Regions from separate parts of the Homo sapiens genome. Here region 2 is linked to region 1. The links are contacts of gene promoters, found by promoter capture Hi-C in human tissues and cell types (Jung and others, 2019). All regions are on one chromosome and are shown on one strand. Each heading gives the region's core, a stretch centred on a gene start or on the middle of the fragment in contact. The rest is flanking DNA. Distances are from core to core; before and after follow the strand shown.

Region 1 (4,688 bases), core at 888-3,387:
TGCTGTCCCCTTTTGGGTTTTTGTTGTTGTTTGAGATGGAGTCTTGCTCTTGTTGCCCAGGCTGGAGTGCAATAGTGCGATCTCGGCTCACTGCATCCTCTGCCTCCTGGGTTCAAGCAATTCTGCCTCAGCCTCCCTAGTAGCTGGGATTACAGGTGCCCTCCACCACACCCGTATTTTTAGTAGAGATAGGGTTTCACCATGTTGGCCAGGCTGGTCTGGAACTCCTGACCTCAGGTGATCCACCCTCCTCGGCCTCCCAAAGTGCTGGGATTACAGGCATGAGCCACCTCGCCCAGCCTGCTGTCCCCTTTTGGAGGCTGACATCTTAGCCCCTCCAAACTTGTGGAGGTGAGCTGATGAGCAAAGTGCTTCCTGATGCACCCCAGGATGAGAATCTGCAGGCACCAGGGGGCCTGCCCCTGGGAATCCTGGACCGGGGAGGGGTGGGGAATGGGCAGGGACCTCCTAGGCAGGGGCTGCTCCTGCCCCATCGGCCTGCTGCAGGAATCATTCTGCTTAGGTACCTGATGGATGAAGGGCAGTCCTTCCATCCCCAGCCCAACCTCACCTTGAAAGAGGTTTAACCAAGACAGGCCAAGTCACAAAGACTACCCATCCCCCGTCACCTTCAGCCCAAGTCACTTCTACAGCACCCAGCCTCTGCCTGAACACCTTGGTGAAGGTGGACAGGCCCTCTTGGGAAGGCCATGCTGGCGCCCCTGTGTCTTCACCTCCTGGAACCCCTGGAACCCTCCCTGGTTCAGCCTGGCCAGCTGTCTCCACACAAGGACTTGCAGCCTCTGTGGCATCCTGGTCCCTCCCAGTCTGTCTCCCACCCCACAGAGGGCCCTGCATGCACAGGGCACTACAAGGGGACTAACTCAGGCCTGTGGATACAGCTCTGAACTCAGACACCTGGAGGACCCAGGGTGGATGTAGGGGAGCTCCAGCCCCTTGGGAAGAGCCCCATACCACCTCCCTAAACTTGAAGGCCACCACCCACGCCTGCTCCACCTCAGCAGGTGTGGGACAGGTCTGTGAGCATCAGGATCCCTCTGGGATGGCCCCAGGACTCTCCCCTGCCAGTCCTGCCCTGTTGTCCCAGGGAGCTCTCCATAGGGCTCTGGAGCTGGCAGTCACAGGCCCCGCCCCCAGATGGAGATGAAGCCGGATCTCCGGGATGATGGGAGCAGGGTGCCCATCCAGGACTCCTGGCACTGCCATCCCGACCCACTGGGCACCTGATTCTTGGACACAGCCCAGGACAGAGGCGATCAGATCCCACAGCCTGGCTGGGAGCTGGTGTGGGCGCCCTGGAGGACCTCAGAAGCTCCAGGCCCAGGCATGGTCTGGGCACAGCAGGCCCACCTCTGCCTGCCCCCTCATGCCACCCCCTCCAGCTTTCAGGGCTGGCTGTCCAAGAACAGGCCCCCTCCCCGCCACACACACACACACACAAAACCTGGTTTTGGAGGTATTGCCCACCTTACAGGGAGGGGGTACATCTTGGGGTCCCTCAACTTCGGGTGGGAAGGCGGACCCGTGGCCTGCCCCGAGTGGGAAGGACACCCTGTTTCCGGGCGTTGGGTCGCCCCCCGCCCCCTCCCTTACCCCACGTGGCTTCGGAAAACCCCGTCCCGGTGAACTCCCCAATCTGGGAGTCGCGGCGTGCGGGCCACCTGTCCGGGAGCCGCCCCCAAACTCCTCCCACTGCCAGCGAGGCAGGGGCCCGCTCCCTGCGGAGATCCGGACACCCCGCGTCGGGGCGCGAGGCTGGGGGTGGGGTGGGTGGCGGGACCCGGGACCGGGAGGGGACAGCGGGACAGACTGTGGAGGGCGGGAAGGCGGGGCCCGGGACGCTGGACGCCGGCCCCGCTCGCCGCCAGGCCCCGGACGCGGCCGCCGCCACCTGTCGCGCTCGTGGGCTAGGGGCCCCGCCGGGCCTGGCGACGGAGAGGGGGTCCCCAGGGTGCCCTCGGCCCGCCCTCCCCGGGCTCACCAAGCACACGGCGCGCGCCACCACCTGCGGCTGCGTCAGGAAGCGCCGCAGGTCGAAGGAGCCGCCCGCCTTGGCCGCGCCGTAGGCCCCGCTCTCCATGTCGCCGTCGCCGCCGCTGCCGCCGCCGCGGAACGCAGAGGAACCTGCCCGGCGCCCCGCCCGACTCCACCCGCCGGGGGCGTGGCCAGGCGCCGCTAGGGACCGAGGGCAAAGTGCGGCCCTCGCGAGCGGCGGGCGAGCCGCGGGACTGCGCTTCTAGAGGCGGGGAGGGGCTGTGGCCGCGGAGCACCCGGGTCCACCCCACCTCGGGGTTGAGGGGCTAGTCTCCGGGCCACGCCGGCCGCAGCACGGACCAGAAAGGGTCAGAGAGTCCCCCGGGAAGACGGACGAACTGAGGACCGCTCACCCTCTTTGCCCCTGCCCTCCCACCGCCTCCTCTAGGAAGCCCACCACCTACCAAGAACCCACCCAGGCTCATAAGCAACCCCTCCCCCATCCCACTGAAAAACCCAGGCCACACCCTGGAGCCCCTCCCTGCCTGGCCTGCCACTCTTTCCTCCTCTCTGGGGCTAAGCCTGGGGTAGGGTCAAAGACCCCCTCCCCATTCCTCCTGGTCTGGGCAGAGCCCCAAGGCTGTGAAGGGCAGTGTGGCGTCACACTTAAGATGGTGTGCAAGGCCGGGAGCGGTGGCTCACACCTGTAATCCCAGCACTTTGGGAGGCCGAGGCGGTTGGATCACCTGAGGTCAGGAGTTCGAGACCAGCCTGACCAACATGGAGAAACCCCGTCTCTACTAAAAATACAAAAATTAGCCTGGTGTGGTGGTGCATGCCTGTAATCCCAGCTACTCGGGAGGCTGAGGCAGGAGAATCGCTTGAACCTGGGAGGTGGAGGTTGCGGTGAGCCGAGATTGTGCCATTGCACTCCAGCCTGGGCAACAAGAGCAAAACTCTGTGTCAAAAAAAAAAAAAAAAAAAAAAAAAAAGATGGTGTGCAAGGCCGGGCGCAGTGGCTCACACCTGTAATCCCAGCACTTTGGGAGGCCGAGGCGGTTGGATCACCTGAGGTCAGGAGTTTGAGACCAGCCTGGCCAACATGGTGAAACCCCGTCTCTACTAAAAATACAACAACAACAAAAAAATTAGCTGGGCGTTGTGGTAAGCGCCTGTAATCCCAGCTACTTGGGAGGCTGAGGCAGGATAATTGCTTGAAACCGGTAGGCAGAGGTGGCCGTGTGCTGAGATCGAGCCACTACACCCCAGCCTGGGCAACAGAGCAAGAGTCCATCTCAAAACAAACAAAACAAACAAACAAACAAACAAACAAACAAAACCAAAAACGAAAGTTAGCGAGGCGTGGTGGCAGCTACTAGCAGTCCCAGCTATTCCAGAGGCTGAGGTGGGAGAATTGTCTGAGCCCAGGAGGCGGAGTTTGCAGTGAACCAAGATCACGCCTTTGCACCCCAGCCTGGGTGACAGAGTAAGACCACATATCGGCCGGGCGTGGTGGCTCACGCCTGTAATTCCAGCACTTTGGGAGGCTGAAGCAGGCGGATCACGAGGTCAGGAGATCGAGAACACCCTGGCCAACATGGTGAAACCCCGTCTCCACTAAAAATACAAAAATTAGCTGGGCATGGTGGCGCGTGCCTGTAGTCCCAGCTACTTGGCAGGCTGAGGCAGGAGAATCGCTTGAACCCGGGAGGCGGAGGTTGCAGTGAGCCGAGATTGCACCATTGCGACAGAGCGAGACTCCATCTCAAAAAAAAAAAAAAAGAAAAGACCACATATAAAAAAATATATATATGGCATGCAAACAGAAATGAAGTTTTCAGGGCGACAGGCAGATGGCAAAGTTTAATCCAGTTCCAGTTCAGCCCCCTCTCGCCTCCGTCCCTCTCTACCTCCATCCCAAGAAAAACCGGTACAGAGGGTCTGGTGCAGGGTAGGCTGGGGCAGGCTCTGTGTGTGTTGGAGTGGGGAGCGGAGGTTGTACAGACAGAGGTGTGGGATCACAGGCTGACTGAACCCGGAAGAATTCCAGACCCCCCTTTGCTAGTTGCAGGTGCAGATTAACAACAGCAGGTGTGCCAGGTGGGGCTCACAGTCAACCCAGGTGAGCTGGACCACGTGAGAGTTGAACCATAGGACTGGGCCACCAGGAGGTGGGGTGCCTCTCCAGGGAAGAGGGGAGCAGGTGGGGGGGAGGGGCTGGGCCTTTTCGCAGTGTGCCCCCCTCCCTCTCCCTACACCCAGAGAGATGTGACAGCACCTGAGAGGCGAGGACAGGGCCACACAGACCCCCTTATTTCTGTGACCCTCCTGAAGCCCTCACACCAACAGTGTCTGTGTTTGCTGAAGGCCACCAGCACTCCAAGAATCCCAGCTGGCAGGCTTTTTTCTTTTTTTTAAATAAATGTTTTTGTGTATATTTAAGGTAGACAACCTGATATGATGGGATTCATATAGATAATATAGATAGCACAAAGGTTCCTATAGCGAAGCAAGTTAACATATCCACCATCTCTCATAGTTACCCTTTTTTTTTTTTTTTTTTTTTTGTGGCAAGAGCAGCTAAAACACACTCATTTTGCATGAACTCCAAATACGAACAGTGCACGCTGATGGCCTGCAGTCCTCTGCCGTGCTTGGCTCTCTGGACGGTTCATTCTACATGGCTGCTGCTT
Region 2 (4,688 bases), core at 1-2,500, 320 kb before region 1:
GCAGCACAGTGTGGCCAGGGTTTGAGAGGGATACCAAGTGGAATGTTCCCTATGGGGACAGGGCCAGGAGCTGCTGAGCCTGGGTGCCTCTGTGCCGGCTTCTCCAGCAACACTTGCCTGCTTATACAGCATTCTCCAGCTGCTGAAACAATGACCACTAATGGGGCAGCTTCAAACAACAGACATTTATCCTCTCCCAGTGCTGGAGGCCAGAAGTCAAGGAGTAGGCAGTGCTGGTTCCCTCTGAGGCTCTGCGGGAGAACCTGTCCCAGGCCTCTCTCCCAGCTCCTGGGGGCTCTCGGCGGTCCTTGGCATCCCTTGGCTTATGGACACACCCCTCCCATCTCCGCCTCTGTCTCCACGTGGCCTTCTCTGTATGTCTGTGTCCAAATTTCCCATTTGCTTATAAGGACACAGTCATTGGATTCAGGGTCCACCCTAAATCCAGGATGATCTTGTCTCAAGATCCTTGATGACATCTGCTAATGCCCTTTCTCCAAATCAGGGCACATTCTGGGTTCTGGGTGGACATTCTTTTGTAGCACCACCATCCTACCCACTGTACCATGTGTGGGAGTTTTCAGGGTAGGCAAAGACAATGTCCGGGGAACTGAAATGAAGCCTGGGTAGGAGCTGCTGAGACACGGGGACAGGAAAAAGACAGGATCGTGGAGTCCTCAGGGGGACACCCTATGGGAGCAGAGAAGAGGGAGCCAGAAACGAAGGCAGCGTGGGCCAAGGCAGGAACTGGACACCTCCAAGGAGTGACCTGGAGGAAGCAGGAGGAGGAGACCTGAGTATTGGCAGAGGAGAGAATGGAAATGGGCGAGAAGCAGACACAGGGTCCCCAGACAGCAGGAGCAGCCCTCCTATAGGCAACTGCCAGGGGCAGGGATGCCGGATGCACCCAGGATGGCCTTGGGGACAGGGCAAGAAGCCGTATGGACCAGAGGTGAGAAAGTCGGCCTGTCTCGCAAGCATGTGTCTCTCCTGGGGCCTGTGCTACGCATATCAGAGACAGCACACACACCGACCCGCACTCAGTGACTCCTACCAAGGCAGCATCACAAATTTTTGACACAAACATCTTCAAAGTAGAAGGCAGAAAGCAGCAGCCTCTGCGTAGATTTGCAAATCAATCTCCCCTACTGAAGACCAACTGGACTTGGAATTCAGTTCTTAGTTGCGACAGGCATGGAGACACCCTGATTCGCTTAGGGACATAGAAAGGTTTACTCTATTACGCTGGATAATACAGGGTGCTATGCGGCAAAGACGTTCAGCTCTTAATTCTCTCTTGTGATAGAGGTTCAGGAAGAAGCGGAGCTCCCCCAGAGCACACTCACAGAAGAGTGTGTGTCTGGCCAAGCACAGTGCCTCATGTCTGTAATCGCAGCACTTTGGGAAGCTGAGGCGGGCAGATCATCTAAGGTCAGGAGTTCAAGACCAGCCTGGCCAACGTGGCGAAACCCTGTCTCTACTAAAAATATGAAAATTAGCCAGGTGTGATGGTGCACGCCTGTGATCCCAGCTACTTGGAAGGCCGAAACAGGAGAATTGCTTGAACCCAGGAGGCAGAAGTTGCAGTGAGCCGAGATCGCACCCCTGCACTACAGAGCAAGACTCCATCTCAGAAGAAGAAAAAAAATGAGTCTCTGTCTAAAGAGGCACGTCTGCCGGTCAGCGCAGGGCAGGCTGGCTGTGTGTGTTAACAGGAGCTTCCTGCTTAGGCCCTGGGCATCCTGGAAATGATGCACGTGCTGAGCTCACTGGCACTCGAGGGGGCCAGGCACTAGTGATGCTTTCAGCAGATGCTGATTTGGCAACACTTACCCTGGACCAGGCCCCCTTCTCTGAGCTTTAAAAATATCAGCCCATGTAGTCCTTGGAAATGAGGGTCATGGAAACATCACCCCTGTTTACAGATGAGAAACCAGGGACTCAGGCATGTGCAGTAACCTGCCTAAAGCAGCAGCTGGCCATGGTAGAGCTGACTCAAGCCTGGGCAGTCAGGCCCCAGAGTCCACACCCCTCACCGCCGTGGTGGGCCACCTCCACACGAGCCACCCAGAGATGTCTGTGGCCAACAGTCTGGCACGGCTCTTCAAGGATTGCTGGTTGTATTGATTTGTACTCTTACACTGAACATGGCAAATTCAACTCAAACTAACTGAAGCTTAAAAAAAAAAAAAAAAAAAAAGCACCAAGGGGTGCTTCAGGCATGGCTGGATTCAGGAGTCCAGATGATGTAATGAAATGTCCCTGCTCCTATCCTTGTCTCTCCTTTCTGCTCCCTTACTGTCCCCACCTTCGTGCCCCCCACATGACATCATGAGATCTTTCTCCTTTTCTGTTCTGCCCCATCCACCAGCCCTTGGTATGTGCTTCCCGTGTGGTAGCAAGAATGGCTTCCAACTGTTCTAGACCTACAGCACCCCCATAGCTAGCAACCCCAGAGAGGGCACAGCCCCCACGACCCTGGCATCCTCCTCCGACCCTTTCAGGGCCTGCAACTGGCCCCTCTGGCACCCTCGTTTGGACCCATTGCCATGCAGGCATGGTGACCCTGAGGGCAGCCCCAGCAGAATTGGGTGGAGGTAGGGAGGGGCGTTTACCAAGGCAGGGACACTGGCAGACCCAGAGCAGCGGCTGTGTCATCGGCGCCTCCTGTCACCCCCAGGGTGGTGAGCAGCTGGATCGAGAGGCGCAAGGTGCAGTCGGAGAAGGCCAACCTGATGATCCTCTTTGACAAGTACCTGCCCACGTGCCTGGACAAGTTGCGCTTTGGGTTCAAGAAGATCACGCCAGTGCCGGAGATCACGGTGATCCAAACGATTCTGTACCTGCTGGAGTGCCTGCTCACGGAGAAGACCGTGCCCCCCGACTCCCCCAGGGAGCTGTACGAGCTGTACTTCGTGTTCACCTGCTTCTGGGCCTTCGGTGGCGCCATGTTCCAGGACCAGGTGATGCACCTGGGGGGCCCGGCCACCCACACAGGGTCTCTCAGCATCCTGCTTAGCTGGGCCCTGATTTTTACTTCTGTGTCTCAACAGCTTGTGGATTATCGAGTGGAGTTCAGTAAATGGTGGATCAACGAATTCAAGACTATCAAGTTCCCCTCGCAGGGAACGATTTTTGACTACTACATTGATCCTGACACAAAAAAGTTCCTGCCCTGGACAGATAAAGTGCCCTCCTTTGAGCTGGATCCCGATGTCCCACTGCAGGTAACTGTCCCCAAAGCAGGGCCACCGACTGGTGATTTAGAGGCAGGAATCGGTGCAGTACCCTCCACACGCCTGCACGGAATGTCCAAACACAACCGATTTTCAACATTAGGACCTGTTCGGTAGAACATGGCCTGCACACCCACGAGAGGCAGAAGTGTCTGAGAATCACAGCTCCCTCCCCTTCCCTCCCCTGCCCCAGGCCTCTTTGGTCCACACCACGGAAACCATCCGCATCCGCTACTTCATGGACCTGCTCATGGAGAAGTCCTGGCCGGTGATGCTGGTGGGGAACGCGGGGACGGGCAAGTCGGTGCTGATGGGGGACAAGCTGGAAAGCCTGAACACGGACAACTACCTGGTGCAGGCTGTGCCCTTCAACTTCTACACGACCTCAGCCATGCTGCAGGGTGAGGCTGGTCCGGCCACGCCCTGCCTACCCGGCTGCCCCCCGCCAGTCCCCGTTCCCTCCTGTCCCCTCTCACTGCAGGCCCAGGCACTCACTAGCCACTTTGCACCTCCTCACTTCCCATGCCCCACCCGCTGGCCTTTCCTTCCTGAGTCGGAGACAGAGGAGGAGCAGCCGGGACCCCTCTTTCTGGTGCTCCCTTGTGGGCATGGTGATGGGGTTTTGATGGCCAGTCGAGGCAGCAGGTCCCCCGGGAGTGTCTCAGCCAATCTAAGGCGACCCAAAGGTGACGGAGAGCAAGGTTCCTGCCACCCTCGCCTCTGATCGCTCTGTTTATTCCTGGGGCTGTACCCGGTGCCCCCTCAAGGGCCACTCCCAGGGCAGGTACCTTTGGTAAACTTGGATCCCAGCCAGGTCCCACCTTCTGTCCTCCGGGGAAGCAGGTAGCGCCCCTCCCTACCTAACAGGCTCTGGCTCAGGAGGCGCAGGCGGGCAGCTGACCCTCTGCCCTCTCTAGGGGTGCTGGAGAAGCCGCTGGAGAAGAAATCGGGGAGGAACTACGGGCCGCCAGGCACTAAGAAGCTCGTCTACTTCATCGACGACATGAACATGCCCGAGGTGGACAAGTATGGGACGGTGGCCCCGCACACCCTCATCCGGCAGCACATGGACCACCGGCACTGGTTAGACGGGGCGGGGCCGGAGGGGAAGGCGTGGCCCCGGGGCGGTGAGGGCGGGGCCAGGGCGGGGCGCAGGAAGAGGCGGAGCCCCAGGGCAGTAGGGCAGGACTGGTGTGGGGCGGTGGGGGGGGTGCTGCAACGTGGGTAGGGAGACACGGGTCGTAGCTGGGCCCCCAAGTTTGTGGGGCCACAAGGCATTGAGGTAGGGCCAGGGTAGGGGAGAGGTTCTATCAGTTTCGTCCATCACCCATTTCACAAACATGCAGCAGTGGCCTAGAGCCCCCGCGGAGGGGGGGATCCTCCTTCCCCCCTTCCACCGAGGTGTCTGTCCCGCCGGGAGAGGAAGAAGCACATTACCCGGTAAAGGAAGAG

Evidence for each region. Contacts are between HindIII fragments. The study calls those that stand out against the background at their distance.
Region 2: a contact is called between a fragment that was not itself captured here and the fragment with the promoter of SYNGR2 in region 1, in 1 of the 25 tissues and cell types used here (pancreas).

The regions. Positions count from the first base shown.
Region 1 is chr17:78,166,030-78,170,717 of GRCh38, reverse strand. It overlaps SYNGR2 (synaptogyrin 2), which reads right to left and starts at 2,137. Exons shown (of 4, transcript NM_004710.7): 1 at 2,003-2,137. The coding sequence starts at 2,101. C17orf99 (chromosome 17 open reading frame 99) reads right to left here. Exons shown (of 5, transcript NM_001163075.2): 5 at 4,421-4,688. The coding sequence ends at 4,672. RefSeq lists silencers at 1,675-1,834, 1,865-2,474. The HindIII fragment of the contact is 23,749 bases long and covers 1-4,688 here.
Region 2 is chr17:78,484,499-78,489,186 of GRCh38, reverse strand. DNAH17 (dynein axonemal heavy chain 17) reads left to right here. Exons shown (of 81, transcript NM_173628.4): 45 at 2,681-2,963; 46 at 3,054-3,227; 47 at 3,430-3,637; 48 at 4,154-4,319. DNAH17-AS1 (DNAH17 antisense RNA 1) reads right to left here and starts at 4,277. Exons shown (of 6, transcript NR_102401.1): 1 at 4,025-4,277. RefSeq lists a silencer at 4,245-4,474 and enhancers at 4,545-4,594, 4,625-4,688. The HindIII fragment of the contact is 5,977 bases long and covers 1-4,238 here.